4 separate regions of the Homo sapiens genome follow, and regions 2, 3 and 4 are each linked to region 1. Evidence: promoter capture Hi-C in human tissues and cell types (Jung and others, 2019). All regions are on one chromosome and are shown on one strand. Each heading gives the region's core, a stretch centred on a gene start or on the middle of the fragment in contact. The rest is flanking DNA. Distances are from core to core; before and after follow the strand shown.

Region 1 (2,954 bases), core at 149-2,648:
TGTGGCTTAGCAAGGAAGGACCCAGAGGCAGCCTCAGCCAGATGAGGAAGTGGGGGGAGGGGACGGCTAAAACTAGACCCTCCCCCGTACAGGGTGAGCGTTTCTCACTCGATTCTCTGTCCTCAATGTCGTCATTCATGCTTGGAGGAGGGACAGTAACACGCAGCATGGAAAAAAAAAAAATCCCTCCTGGATGCTATGGGGTCGGGGGGGGGGCGGTGGCAGCAGCCAGCCAGGCCCTTCCCGCGAGGGTAAGTTCTCCTCGGCAGTAGAAACGCATTTGCTCTCCGGAGGAAGGGGTCTTCGCCTCTCCCTTCCTTATACTGAGCTGGGTGTGACCTCAGCCCCCAGGAACACTCCCACCAGCCCCGCCCCCGACCCCCACCCCCTGCCAGCTGCAGCCACAGGCGTTGACTCCACAGTCTTCTAAGGATGGGGTGGGGTGGGTCCTCAGTGGGCCCCGGACACTCCTGCACTCAGATCCTGGCTTCGCATTTGGGGACGGCCAAAAGAAGACAGTGACATCAAGGAACGGGAGTGAAGCGCTCATTTGAGCCCTGATGTCTGATTATTAACAAATCACATACGAGTTCCAATAAGGAGGAGGCATCTGTGTCTTAAACCATAAACCACCCCCTTCCTCCCCACCCCACAGGACAGCCTTTATCGACACACTTAGATTTTTTTTTTTTTTTTTTCCCGAAATCGTCGGCTGGTGGCCTTCCTAGCGTTATAAATAGGAAATACATAGGGCTAGGATGGGTCTATTTCAGCGTCCCAGAGAGAAGCTGAGGTTTTCATCCGCCCGAGCTCTCAGCGTGTCCTGAAAATGGTGCACTTAGAGGGGAACGGTGCGCGCGGAAGGTAAACTGTGTTGCTGGGCGCAGCTCAGGGAACGGTTTTCCCTGGTACCGGGAACAGGGATGTGAGGGCCTTCACGGAGTCACAAGACCGTGGCTCTCTGCTCCCACCCGCCCCATCTGCTGGAAAGGGATTTAGAGGCGGCAAAGGCTGCCGGATAAACCTTCCAGGGAGACGGTTTATCCTGGGAGAAGGGGAGATGCGCGCACTCACCTCTGCAGCTGAGACAGCCTCTCCTCCTTACTGGCAAACAAAGGCGAGCCCTGCCCGGGTGCAGCTGGGCATCGCTCACGCTCCCCGGGCCTTCAGAGCCTAGGAGGAAGAGGATGCTCGCAGGGGCGGATTCTGCATCCGAGGAAGGTCACCCAGGGCGACGTGGCCAGCGCCCGCCAGCTCTTTTGTGCAGGGGTGGGTGGGGTGCAGGGTTAGCGGTGGGCTCCCCAGCGCGGGGCTGCGGCTGCGCCCCCTCTCATCGCCGCCCGCCTGCGCGCCCTGCCTCCGAGGTAGCTGCTTCTTCCCAGCTCAGGGCTGGCAGAGGCTCGGCTTCCCGAAGACGGTTAATTTATGCTGCTTTTGTGTGCAGGGAGGAGGGGGTGGGGGGTGGCGGCCTGACGGAAAAGCACAGCCCCCTGCCAGAATCCGATCCTCCCCATTGGCTGACAGACAAGCATCTCCGAAAGCCACGCCAGGGGCAGAGGCAGAAATAATTTTCTGATGGCGCATCAGAGATTTAAAAACAAAACAACGGACAAATAAATAAATAAATGGCAAGATGGCCTCATTCCTTAGAGAATGGGGGGTGGGGGAGTTGGGAAAGGTCTTCTTGGCACTTCTCCTTGCAAAGGGAGCAGGGGTGAGGGGTGGCATCCCCCAAAAAGTCTGTGCAGGCAAAGAAATGACTGTCCCCAGGTCGGATGCCATGGCTCACGCCTGTAATCCCAGCACTTTCGGAGGCCGAGGAGGGAGGATCACCTGAAGTCAGGAGTTCGATACCAGCCTGGCCAACATGGTGAAACCCCGTTTCTACTGAAAATACAAAAATTAGCCAGGCGTGGTGGCGTGCGCCTGTAATCCCAGCTACTCGGGAGGCTGAGGCAGGAGAATCGCTTGAACCTGGGAGGCGGAGGTTGCAGTGAGCCGAGATGGCGCCACTGCACTGCAGCCTGGGCGGCAGAGGGAGACTCTGTCTCAAAGAAAAAAAAAAAAAAAGAAAGAAATGACTGTCCCCAGGTCACCGTGTTGTGGGTCCATTAGATGGTCACTTACCATTGATTCAGCCTCGTGCCCTAAACAGGGCTGGGTGCAGGGGAGGCGGAAGTTTCTCAGGCACACTCACTTTGCAGGGCTGCTGTGGGAACGGCGCCCCCTGCAGTTGTGCGCTGGCGTGGCCTCGCCCTGGAGGAATTCAAGGAGACTGTGGAAGATGGTAGGGTGGAGAGTGCAGGCCGTGCAGTCGGACTGGAAGTGGGTTTGAACTCTAGCCCAGCCACTCCCCAGCTGGCAGACCAGTGGGCATGAGTGATCTCACCTGCGGGCCTCAGTTTTTCTCATCTGTGAAATGGAGCCGCTATGGCTTTTCCACATTATGAGATAATGCATAGACAGCACTAAACACAGTGCTGGGGCACAAGAAAAGCTCCCTATGTGTTTCTTTCTCTTTCTTTCTTTCTTTCTTTCTTTCTTTCTTTCTTTCTTTCTTTCTTTCTTTCTTTCTTTTTTTTTTTTTTTTAGGTGGAGTCTCGCTCTGTTGCCAGGCTGGAGTACAGTGGTGCGATCTTGGCTCACTGCAACCTCCGACTCCCAGGTTCAAGTGGTTCTCCTCCCTCAGCCTCCCAAGTAGCTGGGATTACAGGCACACACCACCACACCTGGCTAATTTTTTTTTTGTATTTTTAGTAGAGGCGGGGTTTCAACATGTTGGCCAGGCTGGTCTCGAACTCCTGACTTCAGGTGATCCGCCCACCTTGGCCTCCCAAAGTGCTGGGATTAGAGGTGCGAATCACTGTGCTCGGCCTATATGTATTTCTTGCTATTGCTGTTTTTAATGTTTATTTTATTTACTTATTTTTTTAAGAAACAGGAGTTTTCCCTGT
Region 2 (2,954 bases), core at 285-2,784, 460 kb before region 1:
CACCCAGGAGTTCAAGACTAGCCTGAGGGCCGGGCACGGTGGCTTATGCCTGTAATCCCAGCACTTTGGGAGGTCGAGGCAGGTGGATCACAAGGTCAGGAGATTAAGACCATCCTGGCTAACACAGTGAAACTCCATCTCTACTAAAATAAAAATACAAACAAATTAGCTGGGCATGGTGGCACGTGCCTATAATCCCAGCTACTCGGGAGGCTGAGGCAGGAGAATTGCTTGAACCTGGGAGGCAGAGGTTGCAGTAAGCCGAGATCGCTCCACTGCACTCCAGCCTGGGTGACAGAGTAAGACTCTGTCTCAAAAAAAAAAAAAAAAAAAGACCAGCCTGGGCAACATAGCAAGAACCTGTCTCTAGTAAGTGTAAAAATTAGCTGGGCGTGGTGGCAGGCACCTGTAATCCCAGCTACTTGGGAGGCTGAGCCAGGCGAATGGCATGAACCTGGGAGGCGGAGCTTGCAGTGAGCCGAGATCACGCCACTGCACTCCAGCCTGGGCTACAGAGCGAGAGTCTGTCTCAAAAAAAAGAAAAAAAAAAATTAGCCAGGTGTGGTGGCATGCAACTGTAGTACCACCTACTCTGGAGGCTGAGGCTGGAGGATCACTTGAGCCTGTAAGGTCGAGGCTACAGTGAGTCATGATCGCCCCACTGTACTCCAGCCTAGGCAACATAGTGAGAACTCATCCTTAAAAAAGGAAAATAAATTAGCTGGGTGTGGTGGTGCCCACCTATAGTCCCAGCTCTTCGGGTGGCTGAGGCAGGAGGACCGCTTGAGATTGGGAGGTCAGGGCTGCAGTGAACTATGATCGTGCCACTGCACTCCAGCATCGACAACAGAATGAGACACCGTCTAAAAAAGAAAAATTGCAGATGAAATTAAAGTTGCTAGTCAGCTGACTTTAAAATAGGGAGAGTAGCGTGGATTATCCAGGTGGGCCCAATGTAATCATTAGGGTCCATCAAAGTAAGAGAAAGGGCCAGGTGTGGTGGCTCATGCCTGTAATCTCAGCACTTTGGGAGGCTGAGGCGGGCAGAAAACTTGGGGTCAGGAGTTCGAGACCAGCCTGGGCCAACATGGGGAAACCTCGTCTCTACTACAAATACAAAAATTAGCCAGGCGTGGTGGCGGTCACCTGCAATCCACGCTAGTCAGGAGACTGAGCTTGGACTCAGTCTCTGAACCCGGGAGGCAGCGCAGTCTCTTGAACCCGGGAGGCAGAGGTCGCAGTGAGCCAAGATCATACCACTTTACTCCAGCCTGGGCAACAGAGTGAAACTCTGTCTCAAAATAGGAAAAATAGATAAATAAATAAATAAAGAGACAGACCATGTCTCTGTCTTTGCAGATATAGCGAAGATTATTCTCCCATTCAAGTAGACTTATACATTCTCTCTGTTCTCAGTTCCACACCGGAGAGGCGGGGATTTCCCTAGGATCACTGGACCTGCTGGGATCAGCCTCTGCCCAGCCCTGGCAGGGGAGGGAGTTGACGGGCTGACACAGGAAACTCCCCTGAAACCTGTTTCTCAGCTTCCCGGCCCAGCTGGGGCACCCACTGGAAGGAGAGGCCAGGCGGAAGACCCTGGCTCCGTCATGGCCTCTGCCCTGAGGCCACCCCGTGTCCCCAAGCCTAAGGGTGTCCTGCCTTCACACTACTATGAGAGCTTTCTAGAGAAGAAGGGGCCCTGTGACCGGGTAAGGTGGGGAGGCGGGGGCTGGCCCTGCTGGGCCACCGTGGGGAGCTGCGGCACCTCTCTGAGTCCCTGTCTCCCCACTCGCCAAGGGGGGGCGGGGTGGGTGCTGGATGGGGCAGGACACGTGCTGGGGGACTGGGGTGGGTTCTGGCCATCTGCCTCTCTGTGCGTCTATCTCTGTCTCCGTGTGTCTTTGAATTTGGTTTCTTTTTCTCTTTCTCTCTCCCTGGCCCCGTCTGTCTCTCCCGATGTCTGTCTCAGTCTCCCTCTCTCTTTGTCTCAATCTTTGCTTTTGTCTCTCGTTCACTCTCTTGAATACAAACAAGATCAGGGACTTCCTCCAGGAAATGGGGAGTCCTCTGACTCCCGAGCTTCCTCCCGCTCCCAGCCCAGGAAAAACTCCGTGAACCTCAGCTGCTGGGGCGAAGGCCAGGACAGGTGACATGTGAGGACAGTAAGAGCTAGCGGGGGCCACATTCCACAGGACAGATAGTTGCCATGGACAGTGCGTGCATGTGTGTGTGTGTGTGTGCTTATGTCTCCCTCAGAATAAAGTCCCAGCCCCTCCGTTCCCCGTGAGGCCCTATCTCTCCTTCCCAATGCCGCATATTCATTTTCTTTCTTTCTTTTTGTTAGAGACAGAGTTGCTCTGTCACCCAGGCTAGAGTGCAGGGGCACGATCATGGCTCACTGTAGCCTCAAACTCCTGGGCTCAAGTGAACCTCCCGCCCCAGCCTCCTGAGTAGCTGGGACCACAGGCATGCACTGCCTCTTCTGGCTTTTATTTTATTTATTTATTTTTGAGACTGAGTCTCACTCTGTCACCCAGGCTGCAGTGCAGTGGCACCATCTCGGCTCACTGCAACCTCCACCTCCCAGGTTCAAACGATTAAGCGATTCTCGTGCCTCAGCCTCCCGAGTAGCTGGGATTACAGGTACGCACCACCACACCTAATTTTTGTATTTTTAGTAAAGACAGTGTTTCATTTTGTTGGCCCGGCTGGTCTTGAACTCTTGACCTCAGGTGATCCACCTGTCTCGGCCTCTCTAAATGCTGGGATTACAGGCATGAGCCACCGCACCCAGCCTTTTTTTTTTTTTTTTGAAGATGGGGTCTTGCTGGCCAGGCGCAGTGGGTCACACCTGTAATCCCAGCACTTAGGGAGGCTGAGGCAGGTGGATCACCTGAAGTCAGGAGTTTGAGACCAGCCTGGCCAATATGGTGAAACCCCGTCTCTACTAAAAA
Region 3 (2,954 bases), core at 237-2,736, 420 kb before region 1:
TCCCAGAATGCACTACAGAATCAGGGGTGAGGGATGCAGGGCTGGGAGGAACTCGAGAGCCCATGAACCTCCTCCACGGGACCCCCAAGCAGGTCATGTAATAGGACCCAAAGTTATCAACAGAAATCTATTTCTCTGAACCTCAAAGGAAGATTTTTTAAATTATTATTATTATTTTTTTTTAGAGACGGACTCACTCTGTTGCCCAGGCTGGAGTAACGGGGCGCAATCATGGCTTACTGCAGCCTCCAACTCCTGGGCTCAAGCGGTTCTCCTGCCTCAGCCTCCCGAGTGGCTGGGACTATAGGCATGCACCATCACCCTGGGTTGGTTTTGTATCTTTTTTTTTTTTTTTGAGACACAGTCTCACTCTGTCGCCCAGGCTGGAGTGCAGTGGCAGGATCTCGGCTCCCTGTAATCTCCATCTCCCCAGTTCTGGCGATTCTCCTGCCTCAACCCCACTGAGTAGCTGGGACTACAGGCGCCCACCACTAGGCCCAGCTAATTTTTGTATTTTTAGTAGAGACCGGGTTTTGCCATGTTGGCTAGGCTGGTCTTGAACTCCTGACCTCAGGTGATCCACCCGCCTTGGCCTCCCAAAGTGCTGGGATTACAGGCCTGGGCCACCATGCCCAGCCTGTATCTTTTTTTTTTTTTTTTTTTTTTTAATAGAGATTGGATCTCGCTGTGTTACCCCAGGTTGATCTTAAACTCGGCTCAAGTGATCCTCCCACCTCAGCCTCACAAAGTGCTGGGATTACAGGTGTGAGCTACAGCGCCCAGCAAAAGAAAGACATTTTGGGAGCAAAATAATTGAGGCAGGGACCCTGTCATTTAACTCACTGCTCAGGCCTATGTCGCCTGCCCCTCCCCCACGGAGCCACCTGCTCTCGCACTGTGTCTTCCTGTACCTAGATGTGTTTATGTAGAGCCTTCCAGAAAGCTCACAGGGGTGGATTCCTCCCACTCACTTGCATACACTGCCTTTCTTTTCTTTTTTTCTGAGACGGAGTTTCACTCTTGTCGCCCAGGCTGGAGTGCAGTGGCGTGATCTTGGCTCACTGCAACCTCCGCCTCCCGGGTTTAAGCCATTCTCCTGCCTCAGCCTCCCAAGTAGCTGGGATTATAGGCGCCCATCACCATGTCCAGCTAATTTCTGTATTTTTAGTAGAAATTAGTAGGGGTTTCATCATGTTGGCCAAGCTGGTCTCGAACTCCTGACCTCAGGTGATCCACCTGCCTCGGCCTCCCAAAGTGCTGGGATTACAGACATGAGCCATGTTGCCTGGTCCGTACACTGCCTTTCAGATAGAAAATGCATTGGGGAAACTGAGGCACGAGGTGGCAGGAAGTGGAGCCCCCAGCAGGCTGGAACACCGGACGTCTGTTGTCTGGCCCTGGGTGTTGCATCTGCTTCTGCAGCGGGAGGCGGAGATTGTGGCAGGAAGTCTGTCAACTGGGAGGGGGAGAGGGGGGTGATGGGCCAGGAATGGGGTCCCCGGGCATGGTGCTGGGCCTCCTGGTGCAGATCTGGGGTGAGTATCTGGGCCTCCCTCCCCTCTGAACCCCACTCTTGCTGTCATCCCCAGCTGCCTGCCCCCCAGCTCAGGGCCCCTCTAAACTTCAGTCTCTCTACTGTCAGATAAGGCCCATCTCCCTCCGAGACTCAGAACGTGATGGGGGCTGGAGGATTAAGGAAGGATCCTCTGAGGGCCCCTAGGATACAATCTAAACCTTGCCCTACATACCAGCCTGGCCTGGCCTCTCTCATCTCCACCCTCCGCAGTGCCTTTGCTCCCTCCCTCTTGCTCTAGCCTGGGGACTTTTCTTTCTCTGTTTCCGCAATGGGAAGGCTGGATCTGGCCTTCGAGCCTTTGCACCTGCTGTTCCAGCTGCCTAATACCCTTCTCCAGATCTCATGTCTCTACCCTCCTCTGCAATTGCATCTCAAATGCCAGGAACTTCACATAACCTCAACTTCTCCGGGGGTCTAACAGACACGTCAGACTTCTCACAGCTAAAAGCAGACTTTCTACTCCGGCAGCAGCTCCCTCTGTGTTTCCAATTAAGGACAAAGGCTGCTGCCCTTCACACATTTCCTGGGGCGAAAACCTCCATTCCTCTTTCCCTCTCCTCTGATTCCAGCCGCTTGCACTTTTTTGTTGTTCATTTGTGTTTTTTTGTTTGTTTGTTTTGTTTTGTTTTGAGAAGGAGTCTTGCTCTGTCACCCAGGCTAGAGTGCAGTGACGCGATCTCGGTTGACTGCAACCTCTGCCTCCCAGGTTCAAGAGATTCTCCTGCCTCAGGCTCCCGAGTAGCTGGGACTGCAGGCGCGCGCCACTGCGCCTGGCTAATTTTTTTTGTATTTTTAGTAGAGACGGGGTTTCGCCATCTCGGCCAGGTGGGTCTCGAACTCCTGACCTCATGATCCACCCACCTTGGCCTCCCAAAGTGCTGGGATTACAGGCGTGAGCCACCGTGCCCAGTCATTTTTGTTTTTTAGAGATGGGTCTCACTATGTTGCCCAGGCTGGTCTTGAACTCCTGGCCTCAAGCAATCACCCAGTCTTGGCCACCCAAAGGGCTGGGATAACAGGCATGAGCCACCACACCCAACCAAGGTCTTTTTATTAAAACTTAAATTGGAGACTGAGGCAGGTGGATCACTTGAGGTCAGGAGTTCCAGACCAGCCTGGCCATGTTGGTGAAACCCCATCTCTACCAAAAATACAAAAATTAGCTGGGCGTGGTAGCGAGTGCCTGTAGTCCCAGCTACTCAAGAGGCTGAGCCACAAGAATCACTTGAACCTGGGAGGCAGAGGTTGCAATGAGCCGAGATCACACCACTGCACTCCCACCTGGGCAACAGAGTGAGACCCCATCTCAAAACAAAAACAAAAACAAAAACAAAAACTTCAATTGGACTATTTCTTCCCTGCTTTCTGATTTTCCATC
Region 4 (2,954 bases), core at 145-2,644, 270 kb after region 1:
TCACAAGATGTCTTCCTAGCTCACCTCTGGGCTTCCCTAGGCCCTGTCTCTTCCTTTGGCCCAGCCCTGACCCCAGGGGGCTGGAACAGCCTGTGTCCAGTTCATTCTCCAGCCTAGGGCATCCTGAAGGGCAGGCCTGGTTTCAGGTCTCACTTGGAGCTCATAATTGTCCCACTGTATAAGCTGAACACAGAGAGGGGTTGGGGAGAGTAAGACTTGGAGATTAGGTCGGCTTCACGGGAAAGCAGCCTTGGAGCCAGGGTTTTGCCACATCCATAGGAGTTGGATAGCCTCCTTGCCAGGAAAGAGAGAAGTTGTGTTAAATGGCTGGTGACTTAATGGGATAGAGCTTTGGGAGGGAGGTTGGGTGTGGCCGAAGGCCAGGAGGAGGAAGGATAGTGGGCGGGGTAGCCGGGGAAGGGGCTTCCGGACTGGGCTGACGAGAGGGCCGGGCCAGGCTGGGAATACCCCTCACTCACAGCCTGGACTAGCAGCCCTCCCGGGCCCAGGGGACGGGGTGGGGTGCAGTCAGGGCAAGGTCAGCTTGTCCGGTCCCACTCCAGGTCCCTAACTCAAGGTTCTGTCCGGCTCGGGTGTACAAACAAGGCCAAGGAAGCCCAAGGTCCCCCCTCTGCAAAGAGACGGTCCCAGTCCCTGCGTCCGGCACCTTCTCAGCCATTCCTGTTGGGCTCCATCCCTCCTTCCCCAGCCCGAGCTGGGGGGTGGCCAGGAAAGAGTGCCCATCCCCCACTGCAGCCTCCCGGCTCCAGACTGTTCCTCCTCTGGCTCCAAAGCCACCTCCGAGCCTCCTCAAGAGACCCTCCCATGCGATGCCATCACCCCAGCCCTCCCGGCTCACCTGCTCTGGGACCACCTTTCTCAGTCTGGCTGTGTCGTCTGGTGCACCCCCCATCCCTCTGTCCTCCCACCCCACCCCTGGAAGGGGCCTCAAATATGTCCTGTATGTATTAAGCAGGGCATACTACTACTGTGTGCCGCGTTCCAGCGCACCCAGTGAATTTGGAGCCCTGGAGTCTGGGCGACCCCCGGGAGCCGATCCGCCTGGACCTGCCCCGCCCCCTCCAGGCCTTGGGTGCTGCCCAGATGGTGAATAATGCGGGCCTGGCGGCGGGAGCGCCGGGAAGAGGCCTGGCAGGGCGCTGGGCGGCTGGAGGGGCTGAGGCTCCCGAGGAAGCGCCCCTGCCACCCCTACGCGGGCCATTGCATCCCTGCCACCGGTGGCCTGGGGGTCCCAAGGGCGCCGCCTTCCCCAGAAGGCTGTAGGGTGTCCCGGCGTGCGGGGGGCACCCACTGACTCCAAGTCAGCCAGGCCCGGGCCCGAGGGGCGTGGCCAGCGCAGGGTGGGCGGGGCTGATGAGAGACAGCGGGAGACAGAGACTGGACGGAGAGAGCGAGCCGCGGGCTGCCAGCGGCCCCCACCCGTCCCAGCTCGGCTTAGCCCCCGCGGACCCCTCCAGGCCGCGACCCCAGGGCGTCCTGTGCCGCCACGCCCTCCATCTGTGTGGGTCCTCTGCTGGGCCCGCCCCTGGTCACAGCCAGACTGACTCAGTTTCCCTGGGAGGTCCCGCTCGAGCCCGTCCTTCCCCTCCCTCTGCCCGCCCCCAGCCCTCGCCCCACCCTCGGCGCCCGCACATCTGCCTGCTCAGCTCCAGACGGCGCCCGGACCCCCGGGCGCGGGATCCAGCCAGGTGGGAGCCCCGCAGATGAGGTCTCTGAAGGTGAGGTCGCCCCGCTGGCTTAGGGCGGGATGCACTGCTCTGGTGTGAGCCCGGGCTGCTGGGCGCATCCGGCGCTGGCCCTGCCCTGCTGTGGGTGTGTCGCAAAGCCCGCGGTGACAGCGGCCAGGTGCCAGGTGTCCCCTGTGTGGCCCGGCGGGTGGCATGGTGCCCTGAGGCCTGCCCTGGGCGCCCAGGCGGCTGGGTCTGGGTGCGGCCCAGGCTGATTCTGTCCGGGGGGCTCTCTGGTCTCTGTGGGGCCACATGGCTGTGAATGGGGGTCCCAGACTCAGGGGGCTGCAGCCGGGGAGGGGGCCCAGGCCCTGGGTGTGGCAGGGATCGAGTGTGGTTGTGCGGCTGTGTGTGTGATCTTGTCTCTGGGAGTGAACCATGCATGGCCCTGGTTGTGTGTCTGTGTCTGTGCGTGTGTGGTGGTTTTGTGTGTGTGACCGTGTGTTTGTTTCTGCCGAGAGTCTGTGACTGTTAAATACTGTGTGTTCTTCTGTGTGTCTTTCTGTGTCTGTCTGTATCTATGTACCTGTTGTGTTTCTGCCTGTGTGTCTGTGTTTTTCTGTCTGTGTCTGTCACATTTCTGCCTGTGTGCCTATGTGTGTATCTGTGTGTGTCTATGTCTGTCGTGTTTCTGCCTGTATGTGTCTGTGTGTGGCTGTGTGTCTGTTGTGTTTCTGCTTGTGTGTGTCTATCTGCGTGTGTCTGTGTGTCTGTTGTGTTTCTGCTTGTGTGTGTCTGTGTCTGTCATGTTTCCATCTGTGTGTGTCTATCTGTATGTGTCTATGTATTTGCCATGTTTCTGTATGTGTGTCTGTGCATGCCTGTGCGTCTGTCTACTGTGTTTCTGTCTGTCACATTTCTGCCTGTGTGTCTGTCATGTTTCTGTCTGGGTGTGTCTGTGGTGTTTCTGTGTGTGTCTATCTGTGTGTGTCTGTGTATCTGCCATGTTTCTGTATGTGTGTCTGTGCATGTCTGTGCATCTGTCTGCTGTGTTTCTGTCACATTTCTGCCTGTGTGTCTGTCATGTTTCTATCTGTGTGTGTGTCTGTGTGTCTGCCATGTTTCTGTGTGTGTGTCTGTGCACGTCTGTGCGTCTGCCTGCTGTGTTTCTGTCTGTCACATTTCTGCCTGTGTGTCTGCTGTGTTTCTGCCTGTGTGTGTCTGGCTGTGTCTGTGTGTCTCGAGTGTGCACACACGGTGGTGGCC

What was found. The method cuts DNA at HindIII sites, captures the fragments that hold promoters and counts their contacts. A contact is called where the count stands out against the background at its distance.
Region 2: the fragment with the promoter of STAP2 here is called in contact with the fragment with the promoter of ATCAY in region 1 in 2 of the 25 tissues and cell types used here (aorta and heart right ventricle).
Region 3: the fragment with the promoter of TMIGD2 here is called in contact with the fragment with the promoter of ATCAY in region 1 in 3 of the 25 tissues and cell types used here (lymphoblastoid cells, mesenchymal stem cells and small bowel).
Region 4: a contact is called between the fragment with the promoter of TBXA2R here and the fragment with the promoter of ATCAY in region 1, in 3 of the 25 tissues and cell types used here (IMR-90 fibroblasts, pancreas and spleen).

The regions. Positions count from the first base shown.
Region 1 is chr19:3,879,129-3,882,082 of GRCh38, reverse strand. It overlaps ATCAY (ATCAY kinesin light chain interacting caytaxin), which reads right to left and starts at 1,398. Exons shown (of 13, transcript NM_033064.5): 1 at 1,075-1,398. RefSeq lists an enhancer at 1,193-1,723. The HindIII fragment of the contact is 15,458 bases long and covers 1-2,954 here.
Region 2 is chr19:4,337,407-4,340,360 of GRCh38, reverse strand. It overlaps STAP2 (signal transducing adaptor family member 2), which reads left to right and starts at 1,534. Exons shown (of 13, transcript NM_001013841.2): 1 at 1,534-1,709. The coding sequence starts at 1,608. The HindIII fragment of the contact is 19,957 bases long and covers 1-2,954 here.
Region 3 is chr19:4,300,921-4,303,874 of GRCh38, reverse strand. It overlaps TMIGD2 (transmembrane and immunoglobulin domain containing 2), which reads left to right and starts at 1,486. Exons shown (of 5, transcript NM_001169126.2): 1 at 1,486-1,535. The coding sequence starts at 1,490. RefSeq lists an enhancer at 1,480-2,025. The HindIII fragment of the contact is 29,023 bases long and covers 1-2,954 here.
Region 4 is chr19:3,605,315-3,608,268 of GRCh38, reverse strand. TBXA2R (thromboxane A2 receptor) reads left to right here and starts at 1,394. Exons shown (of 3, transcript NM_001060.6): 1 at 1,394-1,739. It overlaps CACTIN-AS1 (CACTIN antisense RNA 1), which reads right to left and starts at 1,022. Exons shown (of 4, transcript NR_038865.1): 1 at 860-1,022. RefSeq lists enhancers at 696-1,269, 1,843-2,417 and silencers at 1,256-1,335, 1,446-1,495. The HindIII fragment of the contact is 21,214 bases long and covers 1-2,954 here.